3 separate regions of the Homo sapiens genome follow, and regions 1 and 3 are each linked to region 2. Evidence: promoter capture Hi-C in 16 types of primary human blood cells and fetal thymus (Javierre and others, 2016). All regions are on one chromosome and are shown on one strand. Each heading gives the region's core, a stretch centred on a gene start or on the middle of the fragment in contact. The rest is flanking DNA. Distances are from core to core; before and after follow the strand shown. Region 1 has its middle 30 kb from the start of RANBP6. Region 2 holds the start of UHRF2 (ubiquitin like with PHD and ring finger domains 2). Region 3 holds the start of LOC124902117 (a long non-coding RNA gene).

Region 1 (3,082 bases), core at 333-2,832, 370 kb before region 2:
ACCCTGTTTTGTCATATTGCCAGATTTATTTTTCTAGTTCCTTCTCATTTGAGTATACTATTTCTTCTAATTATTTTTTATTTCTTATTCAACTGTGTTTATTTTTTAATTTCTTTTTTTCTCCCTTGAGGATGTGACTTTAATGATTACAGTTTTTTTGCTTTTGTTTTTTTTTAAATAACCGAATTCAGCTCTGAATGCTTTCAGGGTTAAACATTCTTTATGAGTTTCTTAGTTATAGAGAGTCTTTTTATGATGGCTTTCTCAGATGCTGGGTGTAGTAGCAATATGCATGGTGTGTGAGCAGATTCACTGTCTCCTGTGGGAATGGCAGAGGCCTCTTGAAGCTTATCTCACTCCCCAGTGGTGTGCACTTTTTATTTATTTATTTTTCCCCCAGTATTTCATTTACTGGGTTGAACAGTTCAGGCTTCAGGCCAGTAGAGCAGGTGTCCATGGTTAAACATTGGCTGTGGCTAAAGCAGTTGGGTAAACGCAATACCCAATGGTGGGCAGAGGTCCCAGCCTTGACAGAAATGGCTGGGGGAGTTCTCAGTGAAACACACTGAGGTCTTATCAGGAGGAAAAGTGGGAGCCACCTCAGCTTCCCTGCCAGTCCAGCAGGAAAGCTATCCACTTTCCAGTCAAACTCCTGACCCAGTGTTCTGGCTATTCAGATCAGACAGGCACCTCTTTTCATTTGCAGGAATGTTGATATTCCATGTAGAGAGGGATGGTGATCTCTATTCCTCATGCAAGTCTGAACCTGGAGGGTACTCCTTCTGTGGGGATGCAGTCACCCTAAAGTGTTCCCAAAAGGCTGTCTACTGTTTGCACCCATGCTGAGCTCCTATGGGAGAAGCCCCAGCTGTGTCTGCAGTGGTGGGTGAGGGGAAGAAGAAATCCCCTTCTCCAAGACCCTTCATGAGCACCAGGGCTGCCTGTTGGGTAGAGTCATAGACTTTCCCCCACTGGGCTCAGCACTGCATCTGTACCTCTGCTGAAATAAACTTCCCACAAGAAGAAAGTCCTGGGACTCAAGGTTTGCCACCTGGATTCTTTTGTCCCATGGGGGTACTCCCTTGATAAGGTATACCCCCCTTTCCCCAGGAGTAGGAGTCCCTGAAGGCCAGACTACTGTGAATGCTGCTGCTCCTCTGTGTCTAGCTGTCCAGTTGGGCTGCCATCCTCCAGGCCGGTGCTAAGGAATGTCTGCAAGGGATCCAATGATGTGACCTGTCCTCAAGTCTCCCAGCAGTGGGTACCAGCACCAGATCAGATAGAGGTGGCTGGGGAGTGATGTAGACTCTGTGAGATTCTTTGGTTATAAATAGCCTTGGTGTGTTGGCTTTCTCAAATGCCAGCTGTAGTAGTAATGAACTGGTCACACGGACAGACTTAGGACCTCCTGGTTAGTAGGGTAATGAAAGCAATTGTGATAGCTGAGGTCATGCACAAGTTTTCGCCTTCCTGAGCACTGTGTTCTTCTGCCTGAAGATGCTGTAGTGGCTGTATCAGCTGGCCTCCATCTTTGATCGTTTCATCACATCACTTCCTAAAAAATGTGCTCATGTGCCAAGCTACCTCTCTTCCTTCATTCACGTATTTCCTGAAATGTGACCTTCGTTTGTGCTTGCCTTCTGTTACCCAGGGGAAGTACTCTGGTATCTCAGGCAATGAGCAGGGCCATAGGGCTCCCCAAAGTTTCTGTCCTTTGTGTTAGGTGATTAGCTCTGGTGGAGGGGCAAAGCCAGGTAGAGGCTGGTTCTTGGTGTGCAGACGCAAGCAGTGGCCCCAGTGGGGATCAGAGCAGTTCTCTGGCTGCTGGAGCACTGTTCCATGAGGGAGTACAGCTGCTTCTGCTGAATAGAAGAGTCTACAAGGGGAGTGGGGAGCAGCAGGTGGCAGTAAGCCGCACCTAGTTTCCATGCACTTGGCAAGGCAGGTCTCGCACCTGGAATGTTCCACTAGCAGCAGCTCACTGGGTTTAAGGCCTATGATCAGAACTCAAAACTGCCGCAGACCATAAGCCTTCTCCATGGAGGCAGATATTGAGGCTTTCAGGCCACACTCCTCCTGGTCTGCCCAAGAAGCAGGGGCACGCAGCTCCTGCTTAATCTCCATTGGGAGCTTCTCTCGTCCTGTGACTGCTGCCTGAATTAGCTGGCTGACTTCTAAAGTGAAGTACCCTGTGAGGCAGGATCAAGAATGGCTTCCCTCTGTCCCCACTGGAGACTGGGAGTGCACACACAGCATGTCCCAATGCTACTCCTTCTCATATGCTCCCCACCGTTCACTGCATTAGCTCTAGCACTGGGTAGGGTTAAAACCTTCCCTTGTGGCCTGGATTGCCAGGTTCTCCGGTGGAAATGTATATCCCAGAGGCAGCTTCTCCCTGCTCACACTCTGGGGATTTTCAGGTTTACGCCTGGCTCATGGTGTAGGCTGCAGCCTGCCGCTTCTTTCAAAGGGTCTGGTTTCCATCAGTTTTCCTGTTAAGTTCCTGTGTTGCTTCTTGAAATAAAGTTCACAGTGTGAATCTCTACACACAATTTTGTCTTTCCAACTGGGAGAGGCATGCTAATGATGCCTCCAATCCGCCATCTTGGAAAAAACACCCACGATACTTTAAGACATGTTGAAATGTTTATATGGAAAAAAGAGGATACACAATATGTACACACTATATATACTTTGTATAAAAATATGGCTTTATGTTCATTGGTTTTTTTTTTGTTTTCATATAAAGTTTCTTAAGAGCTCTGATTTGTTTTAAAGATGTTGCTTTGATTTACATAACAATTCAGTGCAATATTCTAAGCTTGTGGCATTTACTCGATCTTTACCCCTGTTTTTTTTTAATGGAGAAAATGATGTATCATTAAAAATAAAGAAAATGTGATAGAGATGTCATAATGGCTGGACCAATGAATATGCTCCTACTCATATACTCCCCACCACTCATTAAATTAGTTCTAGCACTGGATAGGGTTAACACCTACTTAACTCTTTGAGAATAATAAAAGACCTTTTCGATTAGCATCATCACAAGTGATTCATTGACTGTGGGTCAGAACATTTC
Region 2 (3,050 bases), core at 232-2,731:
GTGCTTGTAATTATTTTAGCTGTTTATTAGTTTATTACAAAAAAATGGTACTGTACCTTTATGGGAATAATTAGCACCTATGTGAATATTTAAGTTACCGATTTTGGCAAATGTGAAGTCCAAGTTGTCTTGTTTTGTTTACGTTTATATCCTCTCTCCCTTCTTGAGAAGACATATTTTCATTTAAAATAAACCCACTTGGCCGGGCGCGGTGGCTCACGCCTGTAATCCCAGCACTTTGGAAGGCCGAGGCGGGTGGATCACGAGGTCAGGAGATCGAGACTATTAGCCGGGCGCGGTGGCGGGCGCCTGTAGTCCCAGCTACCCCAGGGAGGCTGAGGCAGGAGAATGGCGTGAACCCGGGAGGCGGAGCTTGCAGTGAGCCGAGATCGCGCCACTGCACTCCAGCCTGGGCGACAGAGAGAGATTCCGTCTCTAAATACATACATACATACATACATACATACATAATAAATAAAATAAAATAAACCCACTCACCCCCACCCCGACTCCCCAGCTGTAGCAGGGAAGGATTAAGAAGGCGGGGTGGGGGGTGGGGGAAGCCCTGTTAGGTAGTGCTGCGTTGGGCCCACTTCTGAGGGTTTAATCCTAGTAGGGTCTTTGGAGTTCTTTCTTCGGAGGCGCGTAGCTCTGCATTATTTAAAACTGTTTCCCGCAAACCCGCAATCCCTTAGGCCAAAGGCACCCCTAACGCGGAAAGTCTACGAACGGAAATGTCCGGAGTTAGAGAGCGGCCTTTCGGGCAGCTGCCCCGACTTCTCCAAGGCCGGAGGGCCGGCTGGGAGCGCTGCAAGCCAGAGAGGGCGATCCCAGCGGGACCCGCGGCCTGAGGATAGGCCTGGAGCTGCCGCCTCCGCCAGGCGACGGGAAACCCTCGGAAGTGGGTTTCCGCGCGAAAGTAGCATTGCGGCCAGGCGGGAAACGTGTTCGCGAAGCAGGAGGGCCCCCGGGGCCTTTCCCGGGCGACCCGACCCGCCAGGCCGCGTGGCGGGAGCTTTCCTGTTGAGCGCGGTGGAGCGCACACATTTCCTTCAGTTCTTTCTCGGAAGTTTAGGCCGCACCCACCCGCGCCCCCTTTCCAGGATTATACAAGTGCACGCCAGGGTTTCTTATTTTTGGTGTGTTTTTGAGACCAAAGAACCATATCCGCTAAGCCTGAGGAGGCACCCGCCCCCTCAGCTCTGAAACGAGGCCTCAAAACGGCAACCGATGTGGTAGCCGCGCAATCTTCCGAAACCCAAAGGCTAGAGGGCGTGCCCAGTGGCCAGGTGCAGGCGGTGGGGCAAGTAACGGCTTTTGGTAGCCCCGCCCCTCCGACCCGCCCTCTCCGCGCCTGCCCATTTTCGTTCCCTCGGGTCTGTAACCCTCTCCCGGGCCGCTTCCTCTTTAAGGCGGAGCCCGGCGTGGATCTCGCGAGATCCGGCTTGGCGCCGTGACCTCCATGTGGGAGCTCCAGCTCTATAAGTAAACACTCTGCGCGGCGCAGACATGGCCTCTTCCTATCTTTGAGGCGGTGTCTGCGGCAGCGCCTCAGAGTGGTTCCGGTCGTCTCTCCTCAAGTCGGCTAGTCGGGCGCGCGCGCTGAGAGTCGTCGCCGCCTGTCGGGCCCGGCGTCCGGTCGGTCCGGTGGGCGCGCTCGCCCGCCTGCCGCTGAGGGCCCGAGCCGCAGGGAAAGCGGCGCGGGCCGGGCGGGGCGCGGCGCCCAGAGCTCAGGGGGAGACAAAGGGGACCGGTTCCTCTCTAGGCGCCAAGATGTGGATACAGGTTCGCACCATTGATGGCTCCAAGACGTGCACCATTGAGGACGTGTCTCGCAAAGCCACGATTGAGGAGCTGCGCGAGCGGGTGTGGGCGCTGTTCGACGTGCGGCCCGAATGCCAGCGCCTCTTCTACCGGGGCAAGCAGGTGAGGCGCGCCCGCCGCGCCCCTAGCGAGGCTGGGGGCCGGAACAGCTGGGCTCCTCTGGACGCACCGGTCCGAGGGCTCTGTGCGCCGCGCGCGCAGGGCTCACCTGGCTCCGCTGCGGGTGGGCAGCCCCCGCGAGGCGCGGGGTGCGGGGCCCAGTCCCGCCGAATGGTGGGGAGTGGGTCCCTGCCAGCCCCAACTGGAGGTGCGCCGCGCGGGGTCAGAAGTGAGGGCGTCCGGAGCGCAAATATCTCGCCGTTTGTATTTGGTAGGACAGCGGCCGTAGGCACTGGGTGCCCAGGTCCCTCGCTTCCCGCGCTCGGCGGGGCCTGGGGCCCCCAGAGGGCGGGGAGGGCAGAGGGCTCTGGCGGCCATGCCACCGCGCGGGAGACCCGGAGAGCTGGCTAACCCGGCTGAGCGTTCGCCTGGCTTCCGCGGCTCTTCCGCGTCTTCGGCTCTCAAACAGGGGAAACTCGGGCATTGAGCTCTCAAGAATAAGAACCCTAACTCTGCTTCCTGACTGTGGTAGGATTCGCGCAAACTGAAGATTCGAAGGGTTTCCAGAACTTCTGGTCCCTCTCCCTCGCCGCCTTTCCTAGGTTTGGAATGTCTCGAGGGAGGTTAGAGACCTGGGCATGAAGAAACTGTCGGTTTAACCGGGGGCCGGGTTTACGAATGCCCTATATAAGCCAAGAGTTTTATTCCCGAAGTGAAAAGGAGTGTAAGACTGTTTGCTTTTCTTACTTCTCGCCTTCTAATACTCATGTCGTTCACGCTTTAAGCATAGCACTGCAGCATAGCCAGCGGTGCATACTTGAAGGCTGTCTGTGGGCATCTCTGGTATTTTTATGGTCTGGCCAGTCTAAGTTTTTTTCCTATTCCACAAGTCTCTTACAATCTATATCCCTAGCCACTCAGACCCATCGTATTTTTCTTTGTCTTCATGTTGTTGTTAATACACTAAAAAGTTGGCATCCTGAGTTGATAGACCACAGTTTGGCTCCAATCCTGTGGTTTTAAATAAGTGTAGCTCTTTGATTTGGTAGAAGTAGCCTACAGTTGCAAACTACTTAAAAGGAATATTTTCCTCCCCTTCACAGGCTTAGTCTTCGAAGACTGTCCAG
Region 3 (2,986 bases), core at 481-2,980, 300 kb after region 2:
AAGGTGACGCACCGTCTCTACTAAAAATACAAAAATTAGCCGAGCGTGGTGGCAGGCGCCTGTAGTCCCAGCTACTCGGGAGGCTGAGACAGGGGAAATGCTTGAACCTGGGAGGCAGAGGTTGCAATGAGCCAAGATCGCCCCGCTGGAGCGCCGCTGCACTCCAGCCTGGGCGATTGAGCAAGACTCCTTCTCAAAAAAAAAAGTGTTTCCAGGAAGTGTTTCCAGGTTGGGTGCGGTGGCTCACGTCTGTAATCCCAACACTTTGAGAGGCCGAGGCGGGCGGATCACTTGAGGCCAGGAGTTCGGGACCAACCTGGACATAGGGAAACCCCGTCTCTACCAAAAAATGCAAAAATTAGCTGGGCGTGGTGGCACATGCCTATAATCCCAGCTACTCAGGAGGCTGAGGCACGAGAATCACTTGAACCCAGGAGGCTGCGGTTGCAGTAAGCCGAGATGGCGCCACTGCACTCCAGCCTGGGCGACAGCGAAATTCTATCTCAAAAAATAAAATAAAATAAAAAGCCGAAGGTCTTCAGAGCACCTAGGACCAGCGGAGGTTAAAGCTTATCTACAACAGCTTGCAGCAAGCTTGCTTTGGTAAACAGTCTGGGGCCAGGAGGTACCCACAGTCCTAGTTACGCCAAATTCAGGCCGAAGGGCGACCTGTCTCCGTGCTCCTGACAAACTTCCAGCCCCCGTTTCCCATCAGAGCCTCGTCCAGGTGTTCCCATTTAAAGGCTCCACCTGCGCAGGGCGGGTGCCACACAATGAGGAGAGTTTTGCAAACAAACGCGGCCGTTGCTCCAAGGTCTCGGGTAACCGATTGGCAAAACCTAGGTCTTCCCACTTAGGGAAGATGGCCCAAGAGCAAGAAGGCGAAACAAGAGGCCGCCGGACCCGCGAAGCCCCGAGCTCAGAGGTCGCCCAGTGCTCGGCCCCGCCTCTGACGTCACGGCTCGGTGGGACTCCCGGAGCCCGGATGCGCGCTGGGACTCGGTGCAGTCCAGCTCCACGGTCGCGCGTCCCACAGCTCCCTTCACGTCCGTTCCTCCGTTTCCCCACCTTGGGAGGGCCAGGACTTCCGAGGCTTTAGGGGGCAGGAAGCTGCGAGAAGGTGGCGCTTGCTTAGGTGAGGCGCGGAGGATGGTATTAGAGAGAGGAACGTGACTGGAAGCTCCCTGGCCATGGACGATCGCTGGGTTCTAGGCGCCTGCTCGCCCCAGCGGTTGACGGTCACGTGATACCCCCCAGTGTACCTTTCCTGCAGCGTGTTACGTGGCGCACAGAGAACGTCGCTTCCAGAGGACCGTTTTTTCGTAACTGGCAGTAGTAATCTGGCGGTTGACACTCTCGTTGCCTGTATAGGCTGATGGCCCACTCACCTTTTTAGCTGGGCTCCTGACCTGTCCGGCCAGAAAGTTGCCACTGGGGTAAGGTGGATGGCGTGGGGGAATAGGGAAGGGCCTCAGCACAGTTTCTGAACACTTCTTCCACACCGGATTCCGGAGGCCGCAGATAGGGAAAGCAAGGGCCAGTAGGGCAGTTTTCTCTTGTGTTCCCTATTCTTGTTGAGACTGTGAGGATGGTGGAGTGACCCTCTGGCTGACCTTTGTCCCTCCTGCCAAGACTTTTTCTTGCAGGACTATTCCCCACCCAGTGGGTGAGTTTGCTTACTTGGTGGGTGACAGTACCGTGACCACAACCAAGGATTTGACAAGGGGATGTTATTACTTGCAACAAGTAAGGAAACACTGGGGGTAATTCTTAAAGCGGTGCCTCCCTGAACAAAGGTGAAAACAGTGCTTTTATTAGTCGTATGTAGAGGTGGAGCAAAAGCCGTGCTGGTGCAGTTTTCTATCATGTTTCTACATACCTCGCATGCATAGAAAATAGCAAATAAGGCCGGGCGCAGTGGCTCATGCCTGTAATCCCAGCACTTTGGAAGGCTGAGGCAGGCGGATCACCTGAGGTCGGGAGTTCGAGACCAAACTGACCAACATGGGGAGAAACCCTGTCTCCACTAAAAATACAAAAGTAGCCGGGCATAGTGGCGCATGCCTGTAATCACAGCTACTCGGGAGGCTGAGGCAGGAGAATCGCTTCAACCCGGGAGGCGGAAGTTGCTGTGAGCCGAGACTGCGCCATTGCACTCCAGCCTTGGCAACAAGAGCGAAACTGCACCTCAGAAAAGAAAAAAAAAAAGAAAGAGAGAGAGAGAGAAAGAAAGAAGGGAAAGGAAAGGAGAGGGAAGGGGAGGGGAGGAAAAGAGGGACGGGACGCAGTGGCTCACACCTGTAATCCCAGCACTTTGGGAGGCTGATGAGGGAGGGTCGCTAGAGGCCAGGAGCCCAAGACCAGCCTAGGCAACATAGGGAGACCCAGCCGATATTGAAAAAAAATAGAGAGAGAAAGAAAATGGCGAAAAAGAAGCTCCTCCCTATGAGACAGGGCAGGGACCCCCTCTTAAAGGCTTGCTGAGTATCTAAGCATAGAAATAAAAAAAAGTCTTGAGTTCTTTCAAGAGAAATTACCAGCACATAGCTAGCCCTGAGAGTAAATAAGTAACTTAATAAAAAGTTAATAGTAGCTTAAAATGATAGCCAAGGAAGTTAAAATCATGGGGTATTTGGTTTTGTGTAGAAATGGAAGATAACATTTTAACATAGGTCTTTCAATTGTTTTTCAGAAACCTGGACCCCTACTGAATGGATCTGCTGGCACCTAGACCTCAGAGAAGGGGGAACTGAAGACTGAAGTCTGACCACTGTTCTTTGTTGAAAATTTCTTTCTCAGGGGCTTGGAGGGATCACATCTACAATCCTGAGCTAATATTCTCTTCTGCTGTCCCCAAAATTTAAACGAAGCTTCTCTTAACCCATTGCAAATGAGAAAAATCTTTGAATCTACCTATGACTATAAGCCCTTATTTCAAGATATCCTGCCTTTTTAGGCCAGAACCAAAGTGTAACCTCCATCTATT

The links. Contacts are between HindIII fragments. The CHiCAGO score rates a contact against its expected background, and 5 or more counts as called.
Region 1: a fragment that was not itself captured here is called in contact with the fragment with the promoter of UHRF2 in region 2 in 1 of 17 cell types (monocytes); the score reaches 5.0 in monocytes.
Region 3: a contact is called between a fragment that was not itself captured here and the fragment with the promoter of UHRF2 in region 2, in 1 of 17 cell types (non-activated CD4 T cells). The highest score is 5.2, in non-activated CD4 T cells.

What each region holds. Positions count from the first base shown.
Region 1 is chr9:6,044,225-6,047,306 of GRCh38, forward strand. No RefSeq gene overlaps it. Among named protein-coding and RNA genes, the nearest start is that of RANBP6, 30 kb to the left of the region's middle. The HindIII fragment of the contact is 2,474 bases long and covers 346-2,819 here.
Region 2 is chr9:6,411,718-6,414,767 of GRCh38, forward strand. UHRF2 (ubiquitin like with PHD and ring finger domains 2) reads left to right here and starts at 1,482. Exons shown (of 16, transcript NM_152896.3): 1 at 1,482-1,926. The coding sequence starts at 1,774. RefSeq lists silencers at 1,200-1,339, 1,620-1,799, 1,870-2,299. The HindIII fragment of the contact is 4,095 bases long and covers 1-3,050 here.
Region 3 is chr9:6,715,181-6,718,166 of GRCh38, forward strand. It overlaps LOC124902117 (a long non-coding RNA gene), which reads left to right and starts at 1,002. Exons shown (of 4, transcript XR_007061412.1): 1 at 1,002-1,436; 2 at 2,693-2,986. RefSeq lists an enhancer at 1,113-1,332. The HindIII fragment of the contact is 2,276 bases long and covers 593-2,868 here.